3 separate regions of the Homo sapiens genome follow, and all the other regions are linked to region 1. Evidence: promoter capture Hi-C in human tissues and cell types (Jung and others, 2019). All regions are on one chromosome and are shown on one strand. The core of a region is centred on a gene start or on the middle of the fragment in contact, and the rest is flanking DNA. Distances in the headings are between cores, read along the strand shown.

Region 1 (4,078 bases), core at 1,579-4,078:
TACTTGCTATATCCTTTATAAGGAACTCCTTCCTCTCCTGGTTCATGGCCTGCTAGTCCTGCAATACTTGGCTCTTTCCCTAGGTCCCCACAGTATCCCAGATACTCCTATTGTTTATCACTTATTGCAGTACAATAAAGGAGCTTTCAGTGAGCATTTTACTGTAAGCCTATGTCAGTGCCTAACATAGAAAGAGATGGCAAGACTTAAGTTCTGAATTTTCAGCCCCATCAGTTACTAGTTCGGTAACCATATCACCGACAGTGCAAGTCGCTACATCTCTTCAAGAGTAATTTTCTTGCCCAGGTGCAGCGGTTCGTGCCTGTAGTCCCAACACTTTGGGAGGCTGAGGTGGGAGGATAGCTTGAGTTTAAGAGTTCAAGACCAGCCTGGGCAACATGGTGAAACCCTGTCTCTACAAAAAATACAAAAATTAGCTGGCATGGGGGCACGATCTGTTGTTGCAGCTACTCGGAGGGCTGAGATGGAAGAATCACTTCAGCGTGGGAGGTCGAGGCTGCTGTGAGTTGTGATTGCACCACTGCACTCCAGCCTGGGTGACAGAGCGAGACCCTGTCTCGAACATTCCTTTATCTCTGCATGGGAGTGATAATATCACAAGGAGCAGAGAGAGGTTTTAGGTTAAGTTTGACTACTCTTCGTGGCAGAGAAAAATAAGCTGAATACTTAAAATAATTGAAAACATTAACTTTCTCCTCTATAAATCCTTTTGATAGTTCTCTAATATTCATGGCTGCCAAAATCGAGGTTTTTTTTTTTTTTTTTTTTTTTTTTGATGGAGTCTTGCTCTGTCGCCCAGGCTGGAGTGCAATGGCACGATCTCAGCTCACTGCAACCTCCGTCTTCCGGGTTCAAGCGATTCTCCTGCCTCAACTTCCTGAGTAGCTGGGATTACAGTCGCCCGCCACCACACCCGGCTAATTTTTGTATTTTTAGTAGAGAAGGGGTTTTACCATGTTGGTCAGGCTGGTCTCGAACTCCTGACCTCAGGTGATCCACCCACCTTGGCCTCCCAAAGTGCAGGGATTACAGGCAGGAGCTACAGCGCCTGGCCCGTAGGCTACTTTTTATCGAACTTTTAATCAAAGATTCACGTTACAACTCCTAGTTGGCTGAGGATTACTCTATCTGTTCTTTTCCAGGTCACTTCAGAAGTTTCTCCAAATGAATCAGAAAATACATAGTGTCTGTTTCTGAAATAAAAGTACATGGAAAGAGAGATTCTTCTCCTTGATGGAAAAGGACAAAATACTTTCTTAAGGTTCTCAATGACTCATTGTGATGGGAGGGGAAGAGGAGGCAAAGGAAAAAAGCCAATTTCAGTAAAAGATTTCAAGAAGTTGGTAAGAAAAATATAGGGTGGAAACTTTGTTTTCCTGCTACTAAAAAAAGATACTAGAACAGAACAAGGATCGCAGCAAGAAATATGAGTGAGGCCAGACCATCTGCCAAACCCTTCAAACTCATCCTTTCTACCTTCCCCATTAAATAGCATATTTAAAAATGAATCTTTGCTGACTCTGCCAAGAATCTTAAAACTGCCCAAGTTTCTTTACTAGAACTCACGGAAACCTGGTGAATACTAATATTACCTAAAAGCTCAGCAATATAGAGGAAATTCTCAGACTGGATGTAATGAATAAGAACGGCACTGTTGTTTCTTGCAGACTGTTTCTTGCCTGCGGTAAATCTTGCCACATACTCTAAATCCTTGGTAGGCCATGAACAGGGGAAAGACTATAAACAGAGTTGGAGATTACAGGCCTCAGGCATGCAACTCCTGTAGCTTTACCATTTCTCCTTAGGTTGGCTTCAGAGAGGACTCAATCCCCCAAGTGCAGAGATGAGGGTGTGTAGCACTAGAAGAGCTGATTTTGGGGTGGGAACTTAGACTTCTTGTCTTACCTGGCTCCCACTTTCTATCACCCGTTTTAAAGATGTTTGGTACCTTGAACATACATGGAACATACTGGTAGCTTTAACTGTGTGCCCTTATCTACCCTATCTATGTAGATGTGCCCTATCTATGTAAACTGTAACTTAGCTGAGAAAAAGTTTAACTCAAAGTTTTGGCAAGAAAGGGGACAGCCAGTCCATGGAAAATACAAAGAGCCACACTTAGGGAAAATAGCTTAGCAAATGGCTGCCTTTGGTGAAAATCTAGAGTCCACCTCTAGAAGGAAATTCAAAGTTCATACACTGACCCTCGCCCCTCGCGTCCCCCCTCCCCCTTACCTCAGATCACCACGGATAGTGAAGTAGGGTGGGGGAAGGGAGCAATGGCAAAGTGGACGCTCACGGCAGGGGACAGAGTAACCAAAAAGAGTAGTTTCTGGGGGAGAGAGAGAAGGCTGGTGCAGAGGTAAAAAGGAAAGACGGTGGGCGGATGGAGAGATGAGGGCAAGAGAGTGACAGCAGGGAGCGGGCAGAGCTGGAGAAGGAGAGTGGGCGAGAGCCAGAAAAGAGGAGGCTTAGGAGTAAAAGGGTAGAGGGCCAAGGGTAACAGCCCAGGGTTGGATCCGGGACCAGGGAGGTTATGAAGTGAGGGCTGGGCATGGGACAGGGCCGCACAGGTCGGGTAGGAGGTCTGGCCAAAAAGGGGTTGGGCCAAGAAGGTGGTCCCGCCCGAGGATGGCTCAGGGAGCGGACGGAAAGGATCCAATTCCTAGCTTCATGGTGCCTTGGCACCACCCTCACTCGCCTGCAGGATCCGGGCTCGCACTGCCGCCGCCGCCAATAGCGCCGCCATGGCTCTCGGCCGCCCTAGCTCCGCACCCCGCGCCTCTACTGCCCAGAAGCACTACAGCTGCCAGGCCTCGCCCTCCATCCTGCCAGGCTTCCTCATTGGTGGGGAGGACTATTTTCTCCAGCCAATCACTGGTCCGAACACCTGATTCCTCTCCTCACACCCCCGTCCTGGGGATAAGTGATTGGTTAGGAGCGAAAATGCTCTCGCCCTCTGCCACCTCAGCCAATGACGTAGGCGGAGGTAGAGAAGACGCCCCTGACTTGGACACTCCCTACCGAGCACACGGGGAAGACGCCCCCCTAACCTGGAACTCCGATTGGCCAAGGGCGGAACCGAGGCCCCACCCCCCCACTGAAAAAAGTAAATAAGACCCTTCAAGAATTTTGCAGTCGCTCCACCTCAACATCCGCGTAAGGGGCGTGGCTATACTTAGGGGCGGGGCTAGGCAAAGATTGCCCTATGAGGCGAGGGAATGAGACTGGGCTGCGAGTTGGGGATAGGGTTTCTCTTTGGGGGCGTGGCTTATGGAACCTCGTTTTCCCGCCGACGGTTGGCCACGTCACGTGACATGGGTTGGAAGATGGCGTCTCCCACAGACGGTAAGAGCCGGCTTAGAGATCTTTGCCTGCAGCCTCCTTCTTTGCTCTACTGGGAACATCCACTCTGTCTCTGCCCCTCGAACATACATTTCTTTCTTGGGCTCTTCTCCTTTCCCTTTTATTTTTTTTCTTGAGATCCATCGCCGTCTTCAGCTCACCGGTTCTTCACAGCAGCTCCGGAGGTGCCCAGTTTCCCCGCTCTGTACCAGGCGTGTGGAGGAGGGCACTAGGGAGGGACTCATTCTGGGTAAAAGGACAGGGGGGTCGCCCTGTGCCTTCCTTATCTCTATTTGGGCGAGGCTGAGGGTCGAGGAGGAGATGTTTCTGGAGGACGTGGCTTACTGTAGTTTTTTCCTTGGGGTACCCATTGAAAGGATCAGTTCTCTTCTGATTGAGCGCACGGATGGAATGATTCTCACAAACCCTCGCAGGGCTGCTGGCTGACCTCATCTCGATACTGAACCGCAAGAGAAACATGATCTCTCTCCTGTCTCCTCAGTTTGGGACCATTGCCGTGGCAGCAAGAGAAGCGGGGGACGTTCTCGGCCCCTCGCCCTGAGAGTCGCGAGGAGAATCAGTATTGAGCTTTTAAGTGTCGTCTTGCACAGGTCGCAACCTGTCTTCCATCTGCTTTACGTGTTGTTTCTTAAGGCTGAGTGAATTAACGATTTCTGTTTATATATTGTGTAAAATGCAAGTCATTTCAAGT
Region 2 (4,078 bases), core at 723-3,222, 630 kb before region 1:
TTTACTTCTACTCCTTTAGTTCAGCTACTCCTCCCCTTTTCCCTCCCAAATTCCCCACCCTGTCAATGAACCTATTTCCTAATATTACTGCCATCATCCTAAAACAAATTTCTTTTCTAAAACAAGTCACTTAACCTTGCTTTTAGGAGCTTTGCTTTGGTCCTAGATGTCATCTTGATATTAATTACGAAACTGAAGTTTCTTCTATTTGTGAAGACCTGTGAACCTACATGGCTCCACTGTTAATTTCTCATATATCTACTGTCCTAGCCAGTTCCACGAAACCATTACTCTCTCCTCGGGCAACTTTCTTTCTCTACCTTATCCCCTCCTATAGGGATTCTCTCCCACCTCCGCCCATCTCCGTCCCATTTTGCATGACTCCTCTCCGACCGAGGGAACTTCCACTCCCCTGCTGGCTCCTCACCCCGGTCTCAAACGCGAGCCACTCCTCGAGGACTTCTTTCCTGGTCCCTTAGGGATCCTCAGAGCCGGAGCGGCCAGGCCAGTTGGGTCTCCCATCCCAGCTCAGCTATGGGGGCGCAGGGAGCTCCGGTTCTTCCCCCAGGCGGTGCAAGATCTCTACTCGTCCGACCCTCCGAAGACCTGCTGCTCCTCATCTCTCCAGGAGCCCCCTCCCTTGGACAGCCGCTTTTCTCAGGAGGGTCCCCAACCCCCTCCGAGCGTTTCCTCAGACGCCCCTACTTGGAGCAAGTCTGCTCCCTGTCACCCGGGACCCTGGCCACCCTCGGCCTTCCTACCTCCCTCGGACCGGGGCCACTCCCAGTTCCCCTGCCCCCCACCCCGCTCTCTCCTCACCGGCCGCTGCCGGGCTTCCCGGATTCCTTTTCTCCCTGGCACCCAAGCCGTCCTGGGTATTCCCAAGACACCCCGCCCTTGAAGCAGGTCGTTACAGGTCACCCCCTCTCTGGGACCCTGGCCGCTTCCGTTTCCTCAGATACCTACTCCTCACACAGTGGCCGCCGGTCAGCGCGCTAGACCGGAGCAGCTGGACGTCCCAAGGGACCTCCTGGCCTGACCCGCGCGGGTCCGGCCGTAGCCTACCTTCCTCGGGAGAACTCCGCAGCCAGAAGCCCAGCCCCTCTCCCCCTAGCCCAGTCAGCGCGAACTCGCCGCCGCCCCCGCCGCCTCCGCCCTGGCCCCGGCCCCGGCCCGGGCCCCGACCCGAAGTCCAGGCCCCCTTCCTCCGGCCTCCGCCTCCGGAGTGCTGAGCTGGAGATTCCGCCCCGCGACGGCCCCCAGATCTCTGACCCGCGTTACCGGCACTCACCTGCCGCTGCCCCCGACCAACTCAAGCGCCACTGCCTCTACCTCGGCCGCCAGTGGCCACCAAGCGCCACCACCTCCCCCATGACAACAGGCCCACCCTCTTTCATACTTCTAACCTATCCATTGGATAGTGGGGCGGCAGCTCTCCTCTCTGATTGGTTTAGTATACCCGCCCGTCATCGCTCTTTACCGCCCCTTTTCCTAAACCCGGTATTCGCCCCCGCCCGGACCTGGAGCGTCCTAGCCCAAGCTTTAGTTGTAATTGGTTGAGGGTTGGGCAATTCGAAGTTATGATAGGCTGCTAAAAGTGTCTGTTAAGCTAACTGGCAAGAGACGTGACGGTTAAGGTTGATTCACGCTTGTGCACAGTTTGGTTGCGCAGTAGAAAGCAAAGGAGGGGCAGACGCTCACATTCGTGGTTACCCGGGAAGGGTTAAGTCTTTGTTGTAGAGTTTTCTCTGTAAACTTTTCCACTTCTCCAGCTCACTTCCTGCAAGGAGAAGCTTATCTCTGCTAGCTTTATTCATAGGGGTAGTACTTACAAAACACCAACATTAGAGGTTGTGTTTAAGAAGTGTTTCCAAGCCCTGGGGAGAAAGGTATCAGAGAGATAAAAATGTCCCCTTCTTTTCTTTGGTCTCAATGCATCCAATTTCATTGAAGTTCTTTCCAGGAGCCTCAATGCTAAAGGGCAAAGCGCAAACTTTCATTTAGCAGAAATCAGTCAACTTCGGTTGCAATTATAAATGTCGTCAATAAACTGAAGTGGCGTATTGAGAGTTCTCCAGCTTCCAGATCCACTCCTGGCTGACCCCTGCCAATTGACCAGACAGCCATTAGCAACTTTTTTTTTTTTTTTTTTTTTCTGTGAGACGGAGTTTCTCTCTTGTTGCCCAGGCTGGAGTGCAATGGTGCTATCTCGGCTCATCGCAACCTACGCCTCCCAGGTTCAAGCGATTCTTCTGCCTTAGCCTCCCGAGTAGCTGGGATTATAGGCATGAGACGGGGTTTCTCCATGTTGGTCAGGCTAGTCTCGAACTCCCAACCTCAGGTGATCCGCCCGCCTCGGCCTCCCAAAGTGCTGGTATTACAGGCGTAAGCCACCGCGCCCGGCCAGCAACTTTCTAATAAGCGGGCCACATTATACCCTTTATGATGCTCTGGAAATGAGAATTCTGCTTTCCCCCACCTCTCACTGCCACTTTGTTTTTCTGTTCAGCAGTTCTTAAATAGCCCTACTAGCTGTGTGTCAGATACTTTAAAAGCTTCTCTCTCTCTCTCTCTTTTTTTTTTCTAAACCTCTTCCTAGCAGTCTAAATTAGGGCCATTGAATGAATTGCCGGGTTGTGTGTGTGTGTGTTTTTTTTTTTTCCTCACTTGGCACAATGCACAAGAATAAATGATTGCATTTTTTATTCACTTGGGTACAAATCACAGTAGGCATTTTTGAGAAATCTAATGTTGCTATAAAAACTCTTGTGCTCCTAGAAATATATTCATCATTAGCTTTTTGTTTTTCCTTTTTTTTCACCCACTTTTCCTGCTCCTAAATAACAAAATGCTGGTCTGATTACTCTTTCAGTTTCTAAATCAGATTTAAATGTACTTTCTCACAACCCCACCTATGATACATATACCCATGGGCCATGAAACAACACCCAGGGATAGTTTAAGACACTGTCAGGCCGTGCGGTGGCTCATGCCTGTTATCCCAGCACTCTGGGAGGCCGAGCCGGGCAGATCACCTGAGGTCAGGAGTTTGAGACCAGCCTGACTAACATGGTGAAACCCCTGTCTCTGCAGATGGTGCCACTGCACTCCAGCCTGGGCAACAGAGTGAGACTCTGTCTTAAAAAAAAAAAAAAAAAAAGACACTGTCAAGGAGGCATTCACCTCAAGGATGTGGACTTTGGAAATGTGCTTTGTCTCTTTCTTCTTTCTGCTAACCCTTTGTCTCATATTTCTTCTATTTACTAACCTCCTTGTTCTTTGCAGAGCAAGCTACAAAGAGTCTAAAACTGTATGGTTTATTATTCAGAAAAATATTGTCTTTTTTCTAGCCTATATTTTTAGTCAAGTTTAAATAAAGTACATACTTCTATCACCAGACTAAGCAGAAATTATTCCTCCAGTAACTATACATAACAATAAAGTGCCTTTTCCTAGTTATTTTCCGGAACTTTCCTCCCCCTCCTCTCTTCCTCACCTTCCAATTTAGAAATAACCTCCCATTCAATTCAATGACTCACAAAAAGCCTGTGAAAGGAAAGTGGAAAAGCCAAAATAACTTAGAGATGTCTGAATCATTCAGCTGAAGGAAAGATCAGACATTGACCATGATAAGATAGACGCCAAGACATAAGGCAAGCCTGAGCTAACATCCCATAACATGTGAAGTAATGCAAATGTGAAGATGCCCCAAGAAAAAGCAAATACCAATATGTCCTTTTACACAGCCTTTTAATATATCACCAGCAGCTTGCTTCTCTCTAGTCTTGGCAGTGTGCCATGCTACCAATTTTAGAGCAAGTTAGAAGACAATTAATGTCCTGACAGATAGGAAACAATAACGTCATAGGAGGACATGACCATTATTATGGTACTTTGGGTAATAATGGCTCTTGCACAGCCATAGTGACTAGGTGCCATAGAAAACATAGAATTAGGCCAGCCTTGCTAAGAGGACTTGCCATCTAAGTTGAAGAATGCAGCGAAATTACTATCACAAAACTGGGTGGAAAATTGTCACAAAAGTCAGCCGCTATTTCATACACTAAAAAAAAAAAAA
Region 3 (4,078 bases), core at 1,161-3,660, 590 kb before region 1:
GCCTGGCCAACATAGCAAAACCTTGTCTCCACTAAAAATACAAAAAAATTAGTTGGGTGTGGTGGCACATGCCTATAATCCCAGCTATTTTGGTGGCTGAGGCACGAGAATCACTTGAACCCAGGAGGTGGAGGTTGCAGTGAGCCAAGATCACACCACTGCACTCCAGCCTGGGCGACAGAGCGAGACTGTCCCCCCCTCAAAAAAAAAAGCAAAAATTATGTTAATCCTTTCAGCTAGAGATTTTCTTTGGTGAGAAAACCCAGATTAGGAATTCAGAAAAATTAAGAAGAAAATCTAGGGGGCCAGCTCTAGTCCCTTATTCCTTCTCTATGCCTATTTGAAAAAAAGGAAAAATAAACAACTTGGGTTTGGGGTTGATGGGGAGAAAATAGGAAGGGAGGGAAATAGTATTTCTGAAACAATGAGGGTTACTTGATAGGACTAATAGGATTTTTGTTTTGTTTTTGTCTTTACTAGTAGGACCTTGTAACCCAATCTTGCACAGATGCTTTGCATCTTCAAATGATGTGGCATCTGTGTCTGGGGTTTTAGAAAGTACTTCTATGGTGGGAAAAAGGGTATGTACATGTTTGAGGAGGACAGGGTCTGAGGAACTCTTGAGAGTCCTGAATTTTCTCTTGAGAACAGAGCTTGCACTTATTTACCCTGTTCTTGATCTCCTGAAGCATTTCTTGGTTTCCTTCATTTCCTAAGTTGAGTATCTTCATTGTCTGGTACATTTCTCTGAAAGATAAGAAGGGCTTCTTAGATTATTCTACCCTGCCCTTTAAAAAAGTATGGGGGTAGAAAATATAGGACTTGGAATCAGGTAAGAATCCCAAGTTCCAATCCTAACTGTGCAGTTTTGCTGAGCCTTATATGCAAAAATGGTATAATGCTTAGCTTACAGGAATAATGTGCAGTTTTTGAGACAATATATTTGTGGGTTTTTTGTTTACTTTTTGTTTTTGCGAGATGGAGTCTTGCTCTGTTTCCCAGAGCTGGAGTGCAATGGCACGATCTCGTCTCGGCTCACTGCAACCTCCACCTCCCAGGTTCAAGCGATTCTCCTGCCTCAGCCTCCTGAGTTGCTGGGACTACAGGCGCGTGCCATCATGCCCAGCTAGTTTTTGTATTTTTAGTAGAGATGGGGTTTCACCATGTTGGCCAGGCTGGTCTAGAACTCCTGACCTCAGGTGATCCACCCGCCTTGGCCTCCCAAAGTGTTGGGGCTACAGGTGTGAGCCACTGCACCCGGCCATGCCCGTCTAATTTTTGTATTTTTAGTAGAGACAGGTTTCACCATGTTGGCCAGGCTGGTCTAGAACTCCTGACCTCAGGTGATCCATCTGCCTCAGCCTCCCAAAGTGTTGGGATTACAGATGTGAGCCACCTCATCTGGCCAAGACAATATATTTGAAGGTGCCAATAGGTACCATTTACTGAACACCTTTATGACAGGCGCTAAACATGTCATCTCATTAATTATCACCACAACCCTATAATGTAGACTATCACCTGCATTTGATACATGAAAAAAATGGGCTCACAGAGTTTAAATACCTTACACGGGCTCACATAGCTATTGCATGCCAGAGCTGGAATTCAAACCCTGGTCTTTTTGACTCTAAAACTTGTTGTCCCAATAGGCATTTGATAAATGTTAGTTGAATATATGAATAACTTAAAACCCATCCTTTTTTTTTTTGAGACGGAGTTTTGCTCTTGTTGCCCAGGCTGGAGTGCAATGGCACCATCTCGGCTCACCGCAACCTCCACTTCCCAGGTTCAAGTGATTCTCCTGCCTCAGCCTCCCTAGTAGCTGGGATTACAGGCATGTGCCACCATGCCTGGCTAATTTTGTATTTTTAGTAGAGACAGGGTTTCTCCATTTTGGTCAGGCTGGTCTCAAACTCCCGACCTCAGGTGATCCTCCTGCCTCAGCCTCCCAAAGTGCTGGGATTACAGGCGTGAGTCATCACACCCGGCCAAAACCCATCCTGGTGGGGAGAAAAGATGCATGAACTACATAAGCTTGACTTTCAATCTAATTTAGGCCAGTTTTTCAGTTACCTACTTGGGTGAGTGGTGAATGTGCAGGTGAACCAGTGCTTTTACTGCCATTAGGTAGCCTGGAAAGGCAGGGACATATTCAATGAGCAAAGATGTGAGAGTTGGCAGTATAAGGTCATGGTGGGAGCCAGAGGTTTAGTGCTTACTTTAGAACAGCATCGTGGTTCTCCAGGAGCAGCACGTCTAGGAAGGTGTCCCTGACCCGGTCCCCTTGAAGTTTCAGGGCTAGGATGCTACGGCAAGCTTCCAGCCGTACACCTGGTGACTCTTCATAGTGGATAGCCCAGAGCAGAAGATCCGTCAGCTCGGGACTTACTTGCCCAATCTGTCCCAAAGCTGCAGAGATTAGAGGGCAGCATGTCACTGAAGACTGAGCTTACTATATTCTAGCATCCAGAAATAAATTGAGTTTTGCAAACAATACCTTCCCTTTTGGATGGTAATCACCATTAGAATTTTAGGGATAGGTCAGAATGGGACATTACCTCCAAAGGATTCCTAGAAGAGGGATGTTCCATCCCATCCTTGCCTGTTAGGATATTTGCCTATTTTGGGATGAAATATAGAACAAATAACATGGAAGACCTGCCTAGTCCCAGCAGGGTGATGGGGAAAGGAGGCACAATTATTTATCTATGTCAAAAAGAGAAGCAATGCCAAAGATTCTAAAAAGAAACTAGGCAGATTAAGGGGCAGGGTTTTAGGTCTGTAGCAGTCTTGAAACTGATCTGACTTTTGCAGAGCGTAATAGTTGAGATCTCCAAGGAAAGCAAGATGCATCCAGCACTGGATACCTACTTGGAACTTATCCTTAATTCTGTTGGCAGGGACTGTCTTGTCAGCCCTTTCTTTAACTTAAGTTTGACATATACCTAGACTCAGGATCTTTCACTAAAAATTGAAGAAAATTATCTTTCTCTTTTCAGACAAGGAACTTCTGAAAAGCTAAGATCATTACCTCTCCTGCACTTCACCCCATTAGAGAGTTTCAGGGGATCATTTCTACTTGCATAGGCAAAGGTATTTAAGGTTGAAGAGTTTGGGGCACTACTTCTATAATACCTCGAATGGCAAAGGCCTTGATTTTCCAGTAAGGATCTCTCTGCATCAGGTTCAGGAGGCATTCAAGCACCTGGGATGGAAAAGGCAGTGTTGAGTGGGGAGGACCAGAGCAAGAATGAACCAGAAACAGCTGGGTGCGGTGGTGCACCCCTGTAATCCCAGCATTTTGGGATGCCAAGGTGGGCGGATCACTTGACATCAGGAGTTTGAGACCAGCCTGGCCAACATGGTGAAACCCTGTCTCTACTAAAAATACAAAAATTAGCCGGGCATGGTGTCACACGCCTGTAATCCCAGCTACTCGGAGGCTGAGGTAGGAGAATTGCTTGGACCTGGGAGGCGGAGGTTGTAGTGAGCTGAGATCGTGCCACTGTACTCCAGCCTGGGTGACAGAGCGAGTCTCCATCTCAAAAAAGCAAAAAAACAAAACAAAGCAAAAGAATGAATCAGAAACAGGGAAACCACTTATCTCTAAAAGGAGCTATAATTGAAAAATGACCTATCAATTCTGGTGACAAATGAGCTGGAGCCTAAAGTACCAACCTATATGCATAGTGAGTACATTAGCTGAATTATCTGCTATTGATTTTCTCAGTCTACAGATCTGGGGCCATATGGCTTCTCTTGAACACTTCAAACAGATTTTTCCCTAATAATGGAATTATAACTCCATTTATGGGAGTTGATCCTAAAGCCCATCAGCACCCAGGTAATGAGAAGCTAGTTAACTGAGGTGAGAACAGGATTCAGGGGTGTGCTCTAGAATCGAAGTCTGGGCTGGCTGGGAGCTAAACCAAGCTTGTCCAACATGTGGCCTAGGACAACTTGGAATGCGGCCCAACACAAATTTGTAAACTTTCTTAAAACATGAGATTTATGCCAGGCGCGGTGGCTCACGCCTGTAATCCCAGCACTTTGGGAGGCCGAGGCGGGCGGATCA

Evidence for each region. The method cuts DNA at HindIII sites, captures the fragments that hold promoters and counts their contacts. A contact is called where the count stands out against the background at its distance.
Region 2: a contact is called between a fragment that was not itself captured here and the fragment with the promoter of ALDH6A1 in region 1, in 1 of the 25 tissues and cell types used here (stomach).
Region 3: a fragment that was not itself captured here is called in contact with the fragment with the promoter of ALDH6A1 in region 1 in 1 of the 25 tissues and cell types used here (spleen).

What each region holds. Positions count from the first base shown.
Region 1 is chr14:74,081,625-74,085,702 of GRCh38, forward strand. It overlaps ALDH6A1 (aldehyde dehydrogenase 6 family member A1), which reads right to left and starts at 2,829. Exons shown (of 12, transcript NM_005589.4): 1 at 2,723-2,829. The coding sequence starts at 2,770. It overlaps LIN52 (lin-52 DREAM MuvB core complex component), which reads left to right and starts at 3,332. Exons shown (of 6, transcript NM_001024674.3): 1 at 3,332-3,369. The coding sequence starts at 3,351. It also overlaps a transcript of BBOF1 not described here. RefSeq lists an enhancer at 3,241-3,420. The HindIII fragment of the contact is 23,259 bases long and covers 1-4,078 here.
Region 2 is chr14:73,457,202-73,461,279 of GRCh38, forward strand. It overlaps NUMB (NUMB endocytic adaptor protein), which reads right to left and starts at 1,345. Exons shown (of 13, transcript NM_001005743.2): 1 at 1,292-1,345. It overlaps LOC101928143 (a long non-coding RNA gene), which reads right to left. Exons shown (of 3, transcript NR_135251.1): 3 at 3,734-4,063. RefSeq lists silencers at 1,069-1,198, 1,209-1,298, 1,489-1,688 and enhancers at 1,674-2,207, 2,208-2,741. The HindIII fragment of the contact is 4,625 bases long and covers 1-4,078 here.
Region 3 is chr14:73,495,933-73,500,010 of GRCh38, forward strand. HEATR4 (HEAT repeat containing 4) reads right to left here. Exons shown (of 18, transcript NM_001220484.1): 13 at 3,139-3,208; 14 at 2,223-2,412; 15 at 669-747. It also overlaps a transcript of ACOT1 not described here. Among named protein-coding and RNA genes, the nearest start is that of RIOX1, 7.0 kb to the left of the region's middle. The HindIII fragment of the contact is 3,819 bases long and covers 502-4,078 here.